5 separate regions of the Homo sapiens genome follow, and all the other regions are linked to region 5. The links are contacts of gene promoters, found by promoter capture Hi-C in human tissues and cell types (Jung and others, 2019). All regions are on one chromosome and are shown on one strand. Each heading gives the region's core, a stretch centred on a gene start or on the middle of the fragment in contact. The rest is flanking DNA. Distances are from core to core; before and after follow the strand shown.

Region 1 (2,700 bases), core at 138-2,637, 1.3 Mb after region 5:
TAGACAATCTACCAGGTGGCTGCAACTATCTCCCCTGAGGCTTCCAAGACCACTGCTCCACACAGTAAGGGGGCCTTCCCATTAATGTTCTTTATTGCCTCCAATTGATGTGGTCACATCATGAAATTCTGGATAGATTTAGGCCATGCTGGTCAAAGGACAGACTTTTTTGTACAAATAGGACCATTTTTCTCACTTAGTGCCTTCCTCCTTTTCTACCCTTCTAGCTAGTGGAAGTGAGTGGAAGGTACGGATGCAGACAACATTGAAAGAGATCACATTCTAGGAATGCAATGTTACAGCCCAATTAGTTCATGAGAAAGCATGGTTGGAAGATATATTGTTTCTATTTGTATGCTATAGAATTCTGAACGGTAAACTTAACATGATCAGGGAATAAGTTATTCCTCACATTTTCTGCATCCTCTGGGTAAGACTTACAATCGTGGTCATCATCAATGAAGCACAAAAACAGCCTTTGAGAGAATTACTGGAAACCAATATCTACAAACAGTGCAATGGATGATGAAGTGACACAAGTCCTATTATAACTAGACTTTTACAAAATGGTACTAGGGAAGCTCAGAAGCAAGATCATCAATATTATATCAATATATACAAGTTCTGAAGAGTCATGGCAGAGTAAGTAATATCAGCATTGCTAGCTTTTTTCACAGTGGGAGTTGTGATTTAGTCAGACCCGGTAATTCTGAAAATCAAAAAGTAAAAGAAAAAACATAAAGAGAAGTTTCTTGCACCTGAACAGATGGTGCCTGGACACTGAAAAGCTTTCACACACGTTAATTACACAAGAAAAAATATGTAAGATTTTCTTCTCTACCCTTTTCTCTAAATTTTTAATAACTGGCTCTTGAGGTTTGTAATATTATTTTAAATCAAACTGGTTATAAAAAAGGAGACCTTTTTTAATTTTTGGCCTGGAGAATAACACAACTTAGGAGCAGCCCTTCTGGCCACACAAGGTACTAAGCAAGTGATGTGTACGGTCTATTTTCATCTTTACAACAGCCACAGTAACCGGTTATTATCTTATTACATAGAAAATAAAATAATTTGCCTATGCACACAGTTAGTAAATGGTTAAACGGTGACTCTTATTCTGGACAACCTAATTTTTGTTTGTTTGTTTGTTTGTTTGTTTTTGTTTCTGAGATGGGGGTCTCACTCTGTCACCCTGGCTGGAGTGCAGCCGCACGATCTTGGCTCACTGCAACCTCTGCCTCCTGGGTTCAGGTGATTCTCATGCCTCAGCCTCCCGAGTAGCTGGGACTACAGGCACGTGCCACTACACCCAGCTAATTTTTTTATTTTTTGTAGAGATGGGTTTTCACCATGTTGGTTAGGTTGGTCTCAAACTCCTGACCTCAGGTGATCCACCCGCCTCGGCCTCCCAAAGTGCTGGGATTACAGGTGTGAGCCACCTCACCCAGCCCCAGGACAACCTAATATTAATGTGTATACCAACCTTGGAAGAGTAGGACAAATCTATTATTCCACCTTAGTTGTGTTTCCTAGATAAGTGTTACCTTTTTTCTTGTTGTAGAAATTATTATCATTATTATCATCATCATTATCACTAATAAAATATTTTTTGAATATTAGCTATGTGCCAGACATCATTCTAAGCATTTAATATGTTTAATATTCATTAAACAATTTTAACAAACTTACTTATGAGGTGCCTATTAATAATATTTCCAAAGCACAGATGGAAAAATTGAGGTATCAGAGTGACTAGGTAATTTACTCAAGGTTACTCAGCTATCAGTGACAGACAGGGGAATTAAATAAGACTCTGGCTCTGGAGCCCAGGAAAATCAGAACCAAATTTTCTAGTTTGGTTCCTTTTACCTATATTTATGAACTAAATTGGGACTTGGACATAAAACATCACAAACCACAATATATGACTGGAAGCCATCTGTGATTTTACTCTGGTGAATAAATTTATTTTCATTGGCATAATCTAAGGACTTAGCATTGCTGGTTTTAATGGCACCTCTGGTTCCTATAGATACAGTGGTCGAAAGGGTAAGCTTTGCAGCTGGTTGCAGTGGGGTCACCATGAAAACATCCCTAAGGGGAACTCATTTAATTCAAGAACATGAAATCATTCATTCATGAGTACATCATGCACATGACCATATATATGTGCCTGTAATACATACATGTCCATCCCATTCCTTTATTTCTTTTTGGCTTATAATAGTAATGTTCTTTCTATGTAGGAATGGAGAATTTTATAATTGAAAAATGTATATTTAGCCAGAGCACAGACATAAGGAATATATCAAATAGCACATTCACTGTAGCTAGCTTGGCTTAAATATAGCACGATGCCAAATTTCTAGCCAAAAATTGATAAGAGTAGTCAATAAGCCAAGCATGCAGAACTATTTGTAAAAATTTAGATAATTGACTAAAAATTTCAATTTTCATTCCTACGCCTGCAACCATGTTCCTTAACATTTAATGTTTTTCTGTCACTACTTAGAGTAACAAATATTTCACTTCTTCACACTCTTAGCAATAGCATACCTACAAAATAGCTGAAATAAAAATGTGATGACTTTAAGATTTACAAGTGATAATTATCTTTTTAAAAAAATTCTCATTCAGAGCAAAATTTCCGATTTGTTTTCTCCTATCAACTCCTTGTTTTGTTTCAAGATCTCACTG
Region 2 (2,700 bases), core at 196-2,695, 1.7 Mb after region 5:
GCCCATCAGCTGTATCACTGGGGAATTGGCTCCATTTGCTCCTAAGGTTATATTCTGTGATATATTTCATATATATATAGTTCTACTTAGTCTAGTCGAGTCTATTTCCATTTGAACCACTGGTAAAGAACCAGTGTTGATAATAGCCATTAGTTAGAGCAAAGAAATCTACAATCACCGCCGTTCCAACTGTTGGCAACTTAGAAGTAAAATTTTTCACATAGTGATTTATATACATATCTTCTGACGATAAGAAACTCCAAGGCAGACACCATCTTATTCATCTTTAAATCACTACAGCAACTGCCATAATATTTGGTATATTGGTCTTAAATTGTAAAAATAATTGAATGAATGAATAAATAAGAGAATTAATATTTAAATGTGGACACTGATTATTTGTGCTATAGTCATACCACACTGAGAACTGTCTGGAAGAGTTTTCAGAGAGCGACAGAGAAAAATTGGCTGACTATTCCTGGAGAACACGTTGACTGTTTGTTGGATGAAGACAGTTCACCAAGAAAGCAGATTTTGACCCTTCAAGAACTTGAATGTGATGATGAGTTTATGACAGTTCTAAAAGCCAACATACGGTTGGTGGCCAGATTGTGGTTCTGGACTCAGAGGCTTCCATTTGGAAGGCAGACAAGCATTTGAATTATGGGTCTAATGAAAGTGTCAATAGCGATTCTGTTACTGGAGGAGCCGTAAAACCCTGCTTAATGAACTAGGCAGGGACACAAAAACACAATGGTCTAAAATGTACTGTATGAGAAAATGATAATTAGTCAAGATTTCATGTATAAGATAAAATGCATAGGGATGATATTACCACTGAGCAATATTATAGCCCTTCGGGGGACTGTTTTGTTAACAGGGTTTGGCTCAGCTTTTTCTATCCTCCTCGTATGAATGGAGATGCACTATACAACCATGAACTGTGAGTTAGGGAAAGAATTCCTATCATAGATGCTGACAAACATCTAAAATTCAAGACAATAAGAGGGTTCTAGCCTCATTAAAGCTTCACTCTTCTTTGGGAGGATTTAGGCCATAGGGGGTGATAAGCCAAATAGTTTCTCACAGAAAAGGAATGGAGGTTAAAGAGAAGGTGATTCTCTAATCTTGCAGTCTACTTTACTAGACCACCAAACATCAAGTGGTGGGCAAGGGTCACTCACTTCCACACTGTACTCAGAAGCTATTGAGGTTGCTCTGAGCACAGAAGAGAGCAGTAACCTTGGAGTCAGGGGGCTGAGGTTCTAATCTTAGCTCTACACTAACTCTGAGTGTGAACTTTCTCATTTCTTAAAGGAGGACAGAGATGAAGGTGGATTAGAATGGCGCTTCAAAAAATTTAAAGAGTGTAAAAATCACCTGGGTATTTTGTGAAGATACAGATCTTGATTCAGTTGCTCTAGGGCGGGCCTGAGATTCTGCATTCCAAACAAGCTCCTATGTTATGCCAATGCTGCAGGCTCATAAACCACAATTTGAAGAACAAGTGACTAGCTGGTATCTCCCAATTTGAAAATTTGATGAAACTACCAATGTCAATAATAATCCGTTTGCTATCCATTACTACAAGTGGGAAGAGAAAAGCAATTACTGAGTTTTTGGTATCATCAAGGCAAAATTGTTTCAGCTTTGTTTTTGTCTTGTAAATCTAAGTAAGCTGCTTTATCCTAGTTAGAAACTATGAATGCTCTGACCTGTACAATAACAAATTTGTCAGGAATTTTTGGTGGTAGACTGTTAATACTGTTAGACTAGCTAAATATTGCTTTTGGAATAATGTGTTTTATGGCTAAATGGATTGCATGTACAAACTTAAAATGGGGTAAACTATGGTGACTATGAGTTAAAGTGGTGGATCTACATCTATTAATAATAAAGACAAAGGGGATCAAATGATGTGATGTAAGGCATAGTTACTTGTATACAACAATGTGTTAATGTAAGCATGATAGCTATAGGATGACATGAGTTGGGCATGGCTCATACCTTGCCCAAACAGTATCCTAGGTGTTCAGCCTGTTGAAAGTAACTTTGAATGCTATAATCCACTGGGTTCTCTCCATAGATATTTTCTTCCCTTGCCCAAGTTTAATTTTTAAGATGGCATATAGGGAACATGGGGAAAGGAAGAACACTGTATGAATCCATGGTATAAAAAATTATTTCACAGATCTGCAGACAGGGATTTTAGAAGTTAATAGAAATTTTCTTCATTGTGTCAAGTACAGTATTTGACACATAATAGGAGCTCAATTAATGTCTGTTAAGTAAAATGATCTGAAAGCAATAAACAATTGACTAAGCTTCAAGAATGAAATTAAATGAAAGTTCACAAAATCTTCAATAGTTTAAGGGGCCATAAGTTTGGGGGACAAAAACTGGGGACATGTGTCCTTGGTTTTAAAAAAGGAGAGGTCTTTCTCTCCCTCCACTCCTTAAAAAGAAAGCTTTCCTTAGAAAAGAATCAGTAAATTAATCTCAGAACAAGAATTTAATGAGCCCATATAATATGTTTTATGCTTCATATAACCTACCTCTTTTACCCCCTTCAACAACCCTATAAAGTAATTATTATTATTATCATCCCCAGGTGCCTCAGATGCCACAACTAGTAAATGGCAGTACTTTCATTCTAGTTTATCTGACTTAGAAGTCAGCCCTCTGCAGATAGCTTCTAAT
Region 3 (2,700 bases), core at 177-2,676, 1.9 Mb after region 5:
AAGAATGTGTTTGGTTCTTAACTATACATTTTGAAAGCCTTGTGGGTAACCTCTGTCTGACATCCCAATTCTGAATATCCAGTGGTCCAATGTGCTTGGGCCTCCAAGGCTAGAAAGCCACTGTCTCCCGTGGACAAAGAGAGGGCCTGGTGACTGGTCCCTCCGTACGACCACAGGGCGCATGCCAGGTCTGTTTACTCATGCTGCACAGGTTGAGATTCTCCAGAGAAGAAACTGGGTTCCTACTGACCCACAAGGTATCAGAAGACCCCAGCCACTCCCTCTTCTCTGTTTTTCTAACTCTGCTTATCAACCAAAGATCTTTCTTTTGGTCTGGTGAAACAGAAGATAACAATAAAGCCTGTCTGTGCTTTATCTACACTTTGTGAGTCCAAGCCTCTGTCAAAGTCCACTTAAAATAATTTTTAAAAGGAATCTGCTCCTAGCTCCACTTCTAAAAGCACGAAATAAGTCTGTAATCAAATGAAATTCAGAAAGGGTATTACATTTTGTCCAGCACCAGTGTACAACATAGAATTCTGTAGGTGTCTGTGGTTATTATGGTTATTGGATAAATACTATTTACGGAGCACTTGCTGTGATCCAGGGACCATGCTAGACACTTTACATGTATTATCTCAATTAATCCTCCCAGCAACCTTTCGAAAATTTCTTTTTATTATCCACAGTATACAGAGGAGAAAGAGGAGGCACAGTGTGGCTGAGTAACTTGCTAAGGTCAGAGAACATGATGGAGCCGGCTTGAATTTAAAAGAAAAAATATCAAGCAAGATTTGTTTTCTTAAATAAGCTTTCTATTTCTTTCCCCAAACCATTCTTAAAACAACAGAACACATCCACCTAGAATCATTGTAACAAATTACTTTCAGTCCAGTATTAACAAAAATGCAGAAAAAGAAAGGAAAGTGGGAAGAATAAATCTCTAGATAAACAGGCAAAAACAAATCTAAAAATTATAGCTCTACCAACTATCTTGGAAAGTCTAGTTGTTATGGTCTGAATTACGTTCCCCTGAAATTCATATGTTGAAGGCCTAAGCCCCGGTACCTCAGAATGTAACAGTATTTGGAGATAAGAGCTTTAAAGAGCTAATTAAGTTAAAATGGGGTCTTTAGATGGGCCCTAATCCAATGTGACTGCTATCCTTAGAAAAAGAGGAAATTTGTGCATAAAGGGGAATGACCATGTGAGAAACATAGCAAGAATGTGGTTCTCTGCAGAGAAAGGGAAGAGGCCTTAGAAGAAACCAACCATGCCAACACCTTGATTTCAGACTTCCAGCCTTCAGAACTGTGAGAAAATAAATCTCTGCATTTAAGCCACCTAGTCTATGGTATTTTTTAAGGCAGCCCAAGCAAACTAACATACACCAGTAGCTGTATATTTTTGTCAAAGAATTGGGGGAGCCAGAATGCGGGATTCACTGAGAGTTGCACTATAACTCACAGCTTCTACACCGGCTACTAGTAATTTGCAAGAATTTTCTTACATAAAAGATAAAAGTGGGAGTCTAAAGGGTACAAAGATAATCTTGGAAATGGAAAAAATAACTATTTTCACTTGAGCCTATCCCAATTTTTATAAATAGGATCTTTCAAAATAACCTGTACAGAGGTAGATATCTTCTTCTGTTTGTGCGCGTTCTCTCTCTCCCTCTCCCTCTAACCCTCTCTTGTCCTGCTAACATTTCATTCAACATCCTTACATGTGACAGGCTTCATTCTCTCCACAGGTGGACAGGTATGCTGATTACGCTAAGAATACATTTGGCTATAGAGGAATGCATTAACTAGAAACATAGCATGAGGTTCTAACCGACAAACTCCTTAACATGCAATTTGGCTTTGATATTGGTTAAGGAAGACAAGAAGCAAGAAATCAACTAATTTCGGCTAGTTGTGGCTTACCTACTCACATTATCTCATCACAACAATGGCTCCCCTTTTACCACCAGTCAATGGGCTGGGAGCAAAATCAGTGACCTGAGCTTGATCAGTCTCCCAATCACAGCCATGCTCCCCCAGAAGCTGTGGGGTAACTGGCTTTACGCCACAGTCAGCCCTCCCTCATTTCTGCTCACTAATAACCTTTCTTTGCTTTTGTTTGGATCTTAATGACCTCAACCCTTCACAAGAAGTTTGTCTCTTTTTTTTTCCTCCTCAACATGAACATGAAATGGCAGATAACCTAAAGAAATAAATATAATTTAGATGTAAAATAAAATATATCTACTAGTGTGTGTATGCATGAGTGTGTGTCTCATTGGCATGCACCAGATTGTACTAAATGGCAGAAATTTCCCAAGGGAAGATAACCTCCAGATACTGCTACAAAGCTTTATTCCCTACACTCTGCAAATTATTTAATTTAAACACTGCTTGATATGACTCTCCTAGGAGAAGGGTGTTTTCCCAGGTCCATTTTTAATTTGCCAGTGTGTATATGCATGTGGGCCTATAGAACTGGCCTTGCAAATGCACACATTGCTAAGAGAATCTGAGCAAAAGCTTCAGATTGCATAACCAGGGGCTGCAAATTGCTGTCTAAAACTAAGAAAATGGTAAAACGCATATGAAATTCCTTCTTCTTTTTGGTAAGGAAAAAATAGATAAAGGTTCAAGTATCCATCTCCCAGGGTCCACACACCCAGACAGTTTCCATTTCCTTGAGAAACAGGAC
Region 4 (2,748 bases), core at 84-2,583, 1.5 Mb after region 5:
TGCTTGGTAGTTTGAAAAGGGCAAGATCAAAGCGAGCTGGAGTTTTGGGGTCAGGGGTGGGATTTGATCTGTTTATTGAAGGGCTAGAAAGATTTGGACATAAAGAGAGAATGGCTCCTTATAGGAAAAGGGGAAAAATCAGAAGATAAGCACAAGGGACCCTAAGGAGACTGGCTGCCTTGGAGCAAAAGCTTACTATGTCAAACAGCCTAGACACCTAGCCACTGCCATCATGTTAGTGGAGGTTGCTGGTCAAGTGACTTCTCTGTCCTGGATCTCAACTCTTCAATTTCCAATGAAAATTAGCTCCCGGGCTCCTATTTATCTTAAAGATGCATCTCCATTTAAATGTGTTTAATGCTTGCAACATGCTCAGTGTTCACTACCTGTGAGAGAGGCACACATTATTATTACCATAATCATCATTTACCACCTGCTTGCCTCACTTGAACCCATTACTCATTGCCATCCCTCTCCCAGGGGGAACCCTTCGTCACCTCTCAGGGTTCATATACCTGCTTTTTGGGAGATAAATTTACTAAATTATCAATTTTACAGTGATCCCTTTCAAACACTTGGGGAACTTGAAATGGAGAGTGGTATTTGACTGGATTCCTCAATAACTATGCTTGCTTTGAGAAGCTGATGGTGTTTGAGAGTGGGTCAGTGTCCTTTCAAAGTCAGTAAAAGAAAACATCCCACAGAGTGACTTAGGAAACATAAGATCCAAAATATCTTCCAAAGTAGGGGTCTTCTCACAAGAGAACAATCTCCCACATTTTCCTGTTTCTCCCACGTTCTCCTTTTCTTAAGCTAGCGATGATAATCTGGGAATAAATACACATTTTCTAAGGGAGAAATCCTGCCAAGCTTGTTAATCTCATGCAGATGTGATGATACTTTTACTATGTTGTAATATGGCTTCTTAAAAAACAAGTTGGAAGGAGGGGGGGAAAAGCCCACCAAAAAACAACAAATATTCACCAACCCATATGGTCAGTAATTGCTGTTTAATAGTCCTCCTATTACAAACCTAAGAGGCAGCAGTCTGAATTACCAGTAGAGTATTAATAAACAGGAATGAGTTAATAGTGCATAAAGACCTTCTAGTGGAACAGTGGGGGAGTTGAATATTCTTTTCTTCAGTCAGCTGTAAGTAATTACTGCATGGTGTGCTTCTGACTATTACCATAACAGAGCAATTGGACGTGAAGAATGGATAATAGTATGGACATGGAGGTATTTTTAGAATATCAGCAGTGAAGCAGGTAACTGGCCTACTCCAGTAGAAACCTTTAAATAAGTTTCGAAGACTTATTTTTTTTTCCTTATGACATTTAGCCATGGTAGAATTTTAAAAAGATCAATCTAATACATTATTTAAAATAACTTTACAAAGAGGATGCCTGTGATATGTAAATAAGAAGCCAAGAAGGGAGGAAGGAAAAGCCTAAAAAGCCCAGGCGGACACGAGGCATGAGCCGACGTTACTGTAACTACATAATCACAGGTTCCCTCCTGCTCCTCGGAGACACAGCCTTCCTCTGCCTGGATGCCCAATCTGCTTGACTGGCTCCCACTGGCTGCTCAGGTGAAAGTGAAAATATTCAAATCAGAGCTGTAACTATGATTGCTGGAGTTGTGGGTTTTCTAAAATTGAGTTAGTCATCCTCAGTGATTTAATGATGCATATCATTTATTTTAAAATATTATTACAGGGGCATTGACTGAGCTGCGGCTCCTTTTTCAAGGGACTGTCCATTATGCAATGCGGCAGGGTATGTCATGGATGGCGGCAGGCTGAGATATTGTCTAACAGCACAACATATGTTCTCAGATGAAAACAGCTTGAGACTTTGATTCAGAAAGCGGTAACTTTGTAAATGCACACAAATATCATTTAAGGAATATTTTGATTTTTTTTTTCAGGGTATAGGTCCTTTTCCTGCCTCCTGACTGCACAGGCCGAAGCTGATTTTTCAATTTGCAGGTTTGTTAAGCATCATGGAATGTTTTGGTTCTCAATCAAGAATATTCTTCCCAAGTGGTTCCAAAGTCCTACGCTTGAAAATAAACGCGTGTCCTCTTTGTCTCCTAGCAGCATGTGTTCCAATGTACAATAGCAGCACAGGACGGAGCAAGGCATTGCCTTTTATTGAACCACCCTATAGGTTTTTAACCTGCCACTCTCAGGGGCTGCAAGCTTTCTTAAAGCCAGGCGGCATGCTCTCTTCTTTGGGCGGCACTGGCAGCTGGAGTCCAACGGGGGTGGTTAGGAGCCAGGACCCAAGTCCTCCTCCTGGCAGGATTCCTGTCTTACGTTGTGGCACAGGAGCTGAACAGAGGATAAGCCACCCCAGTGCTAATGACCTCAGAGTCCCACCTGAAAAGAAGAAGCACAACCTATGGGACAGGTGGCAATGCTTAACTGATCTCTGCCCACCCCTTTGAAGTCCTCTGACAAACAATTGTGTGTGAAATAAACACTGTCACACTTATTTTTCCTGAAAAAAACACATTATTGTGTCTGAGCTCCACCAGCCAGCATATTCTGATTCACCTAGACACAGCCCCTTGCTTGCTAAAAGATGCTGCAGTGGAAATATACAGCTGTGTATTTCACCTATTTAGCTGGTGATTCTTAATAGAAGTCAAGGGCACACCTGTAGAGGTGTTATGGCGACCCAGGGAGAACCACAGTTTCTCTATATTGCTGGTTTAGGTTTTCTTTTTTTCATGTTTTTGAAA
Region 5 (2,785 bases), core at 72-2,571:
GGGAGCGCGGCGGTGACCCGAGGCGGTCATCTCACCACCGTGGTCTCCCCGCTGCTCCTGCGAGCCTGTCGCTCTCTCTCCATTCCCATTTTCTCTTTCCCTGGGTAACAGCACAGGAACAGTTGTGCTCTGCCCGTAAGAAACATTTTCTTCCCATCCCTCTGTGCTTTTGCAGTTGCTCTGGAGTGGGAGGGGGTGTGTCCCTCCCAGGGACCCGGCTCGGGGACCTCCCGCGGCGCCGTGAGCACATTCCCAGGGACTGGGACTCCCGGGACTGCCCGCGCTTTGTCCTCGGCCTCTCAGAGAGGTGGACGCCTCGGTGCCTCTCTTGCCCAGGCCCCCGGCGCTCCCCTCCGGGGGCCAGACTCTGGCTCCTCGTTCTTTATTCCTCGGGCTCTCTTTCTGCGACCCTTAGGAGCCGGGGACTCGGCGCTTTCAGTTGCATTCAGACCCAGTCGCTTGGCGGGGCGCTCAGATTCCCGGTCCCTGGCTCGGCCTTGGGGGCGCCCTCGGGCCCCGGCCTGCGCCGCCTGCCTCTCCCCGGTCCCCTCTTTCCAGGCCGCGCGGGCTCCTGGAGACTTGGGCGCTGCCCTTCCGGACCCGCAGCCCTCCAAACTTAGGCTGGATTCCGCGTTGCCGTGCGCTCCCTCCCACCTCCCCTCGCCCGCTGCGGAGCTGTAACTTGGAGGCTCAGCTCTCAACTTCGGGTGATTTTTCTTTGCTGTCCTCTCCTCGGGCAAAGTTTCCCGAGCGCAGCCGCGGGCTCGGGGCTTTTACTTCGGCCCCTGGCGTCCACACGCGGGGAGCGAGCGCGGCGGCGGCGGGGAGGGGAAGTGGGTGTGCGTACGGAGGAGGGTGTCCGGGAGCAACTCTACCTGGCTTCCCTCCGCCCGCGCTTCCCCAGCCCGGGGCTGCAGCCTCCCGGTGCACTCTCGCTCTATTTTTTTCTTTTTTGAATAATCTTTCATTTTAGAGTCCGCGTGTGTGGGGGGGAGCAGGGCGCACGTCTTGCTCCCCCCCACCCTTTCCTCCCACCCCTGCCACCCCTTTCTTCTCTCCCGGCCACGCCACCGCCGCGGCGCTCGCTGCGGCCACTGGTGAGCCCGCGGCCCCAGCGCCCCCTCCCCTCGGCCCGCCCCTCCCCCGGGGGCCGCGTCTGGCGTCCGCGGAGCCCCCCGCCCCGCACCTCCCCCTCCCCGCACTGGCCATTGGCTTGTCCTGGTCTCTTTTTCATGTCCAGCCCCTGATGTGTGTCCATTGGTGTGAGCTTCCCCTTCCCTCCTCCCCTTCTCTCCTGCTCGCCCTGCCCATGTTTTGTGTGTCTCTGTCCATCCAGACTCCTGACGTTCAAGTTCGCAGGGACGTCACGTCCGCACTTGAACTTGCAGCTCAGGGGGGCTTTTGCCATTTTTTTCATCTCTCTCTCTCTCTCTCCCTCTATCTCTCTTCTCTCTCTCTCCCTCTTTTTTTTTTTTTTTTTTTTTTTTTTTTTGCTTAAAAAAAAGCCATGACGGCTCTCCCACAATTCATCTTCCCTGCGCCATCTTTGTATTATTTCTAATTTATTTTGGATGTCAAAAGGCACTGATGAAGATATTTTCTCTGGAGTCTCCTTCTTTCTAACCCGGCTCTCCCGATGTGAACCGAGCCGTCGTCCGCCCGCCGCCGCCGCCGCCGCCGCCGCCGCCCGCCCCGCAGCCCACCATGTCTCGCCGCAAGCAAGGCAAACCCCAGCACTTAAGCAAACGGGAATTCTCGCGTAAGTAACCCAATAATAGTAATAATAATTATTAATAATCACGAGAGCGCGCAGGACTAGAAGCAAAAGCGAGGGGGAGAGAGGGGTGTGTGCATGCATTTTTAAATTTTTCACGAGAAAAACCTCCGAGAGTCGAGGTAAAAGAGATAAAGGGGGAAAAAACCCTCATCCCATCTGGAACCATTGCCGTGTATGCACTTTTGAGACAGCACGCACCTTTTAATTTTATTTAATTTTACAAAAATTTGACTCCTCCTCTTTCCTCCTTTCCGCCGCTTTATTTCTCTTTTCGAAAAGGAATGCAATGATTCCACTCCCCCCCCGCCCCGCCAGTTTTGCAAAATAATGAACAATGCTAAGGTTGCGAACAACTCACATGCAAACCTGGGGGTGGGAGCTGGTGGGGAAAGGGAGGTTGCTTCCCACTCACCGTAAGAAAATGGGGGGGTAGGGAGGGAGTGAGTACAAGTCTAAAAAACGATTCCCGGGGAGAAAAGAGGTGAGACTGGCTTTTGGACACCAGCGCGCTCACGGTCAAGTGTGCAGCGGGAGGAAAGTAGTCATCCCCACAATAGTGAGAAAGTGGCACTGTGGAAAGGGGCCCCCGGCGCTCCTGAGTCCGCGGAGTCGGGAGAGGGGCCGCGGCGACGGGGAGAGCCGTGGGACCGGGAAGGACGGGAGACGCGGCCGGCACTGCCGCCTTTTGTTCCGGCCAGAGGTGGGTGTTTGTCCCGCTGCCTTTTGTGCCGGCTCCTCGCGCTTGCCCTCCCGCGCCGCCGCCGCCGCCGCCGCCGAAGGGCAGGAGCTAGGGCCGGGGGAGGAGGCGGCCGGGGGCACGCGGGAGAGGGAGGGAGGGAGCCCGGACTGCTGCCTCCTGGGTTGCCGCTGCCCTCCCCTCCCGACCGAACCTCAGAGGCAGCAAGGAGAAGACTGGCACATAAATAAATAAATACATAAAAATAAAATAAATAAAACAAGGCAAGAGAATGTACAATTTCTTGCCCCCAAACCGAAGCCAAACGCTCT

The links. Contacts are between HindIII fragments. The study calls those that stand out against the background at their distance.
Region 1: a fragment that was not itself captured here is called in contact with the fragment with the promoter of BCL11A in region 5 in 1 of the 25 tissues and cell types used here (dorsolateral prefrontal cortex).
Region 2: a contact is called between a fragment that was not itself captured here and the fragment with the promoter of BCL11A in region 5, in 1 of the 25 tissues and cell types used here (dorsolateral prefrontal cortex).
Region 3: a contact is called between a fragment that was not itself captured here and the fragment with the promoter of BCL11A in region 5, in 1 of the 25 tissues and cell types used here (dorsolateral prefrontal cortex).
Region 4: a fragment that was not itself captured here is called in contact with the fragment with the promoter of BCL11A in region 5 in 1 of the 25 tissues and cell types used here (dorsolateral prefrontal cortex).

What each region holds. Positions count from the first base shown.
Region 1 is chr2:59,250,647-59,253,346 of GRCh38, reverse strand. The region is part of intron 1 of LINC01793 (long intergenic non-protein coding RNA 1793); the gene reads right to left. All of the region lies in intron 2 of LOC105374754 (a long non-coding RNA gene), which reads left to right. Among named protein-coding and RNA genes, the nearest start is that of LINC01793, 34 kb to the right of the region's middle. RefSeq lists an enhancer at 2,527-2,700. The HindIII fragment of the contact is 5,585 bases long and covers 1-2,700 here.
Region 2 is chr2:58,846,038-58,848,737 of GRCh38, reverse strand. The region is part of intron 2 of LINC01122 (long intergenic non-protein coding RNA 1122); the gene reads right to left. Among named protein-coding and RNA genes, the nearest start is that of LINC01122, 330 kb to the right of the region's middle. The HindIII fragment of the contact is 3,213 bases long and covers 1-2,700 here.
Region 3 is chr2:58,657,739-58,660,438 of GRCh38, reverse strand. The region is part of intron 2 of LINC01122 (long intergenic non-protein coding RNA 1122); the gene reads right to left. Among named protein-coding and RNA genes, the nearest start is that of LINC01122, 140 kb to the right of the region's middle. The HindIII fragment of the contact is 6,196 bases long and covers 1-2,700 here.
Region 4 is chr2:59,045,963-59,048,710 of GRCh38, reverse strand. The region is part of intron 12 of LINC01122 (long intergenic non-protein coding RNA 1122); the gene reads right to left. Among named protein-coding and RNA genes, the nearest start is that of LINC01793, 170 kb to the left of the region's middle. The HindIII fragment of the contact is 4,193 bases long and covers 1-2,748 here.
Region 5 is chr2:60,552,190-60,554,974 of GRCh38, reverse strand. BCL11A (BCL11 transcription factor A) reads left to right here and starts at 1,321. Exons shown (of 4, transcript NM_022893.4): 1 at 1,321-1,759. The coding sequence starts at 1,705. RefSeq lists an enhancer at 12-61 and silencers at 752-841, 2,251-2,610. The HindIII fragment of the contact is 9,532 bases long and covers 1-2,785 here.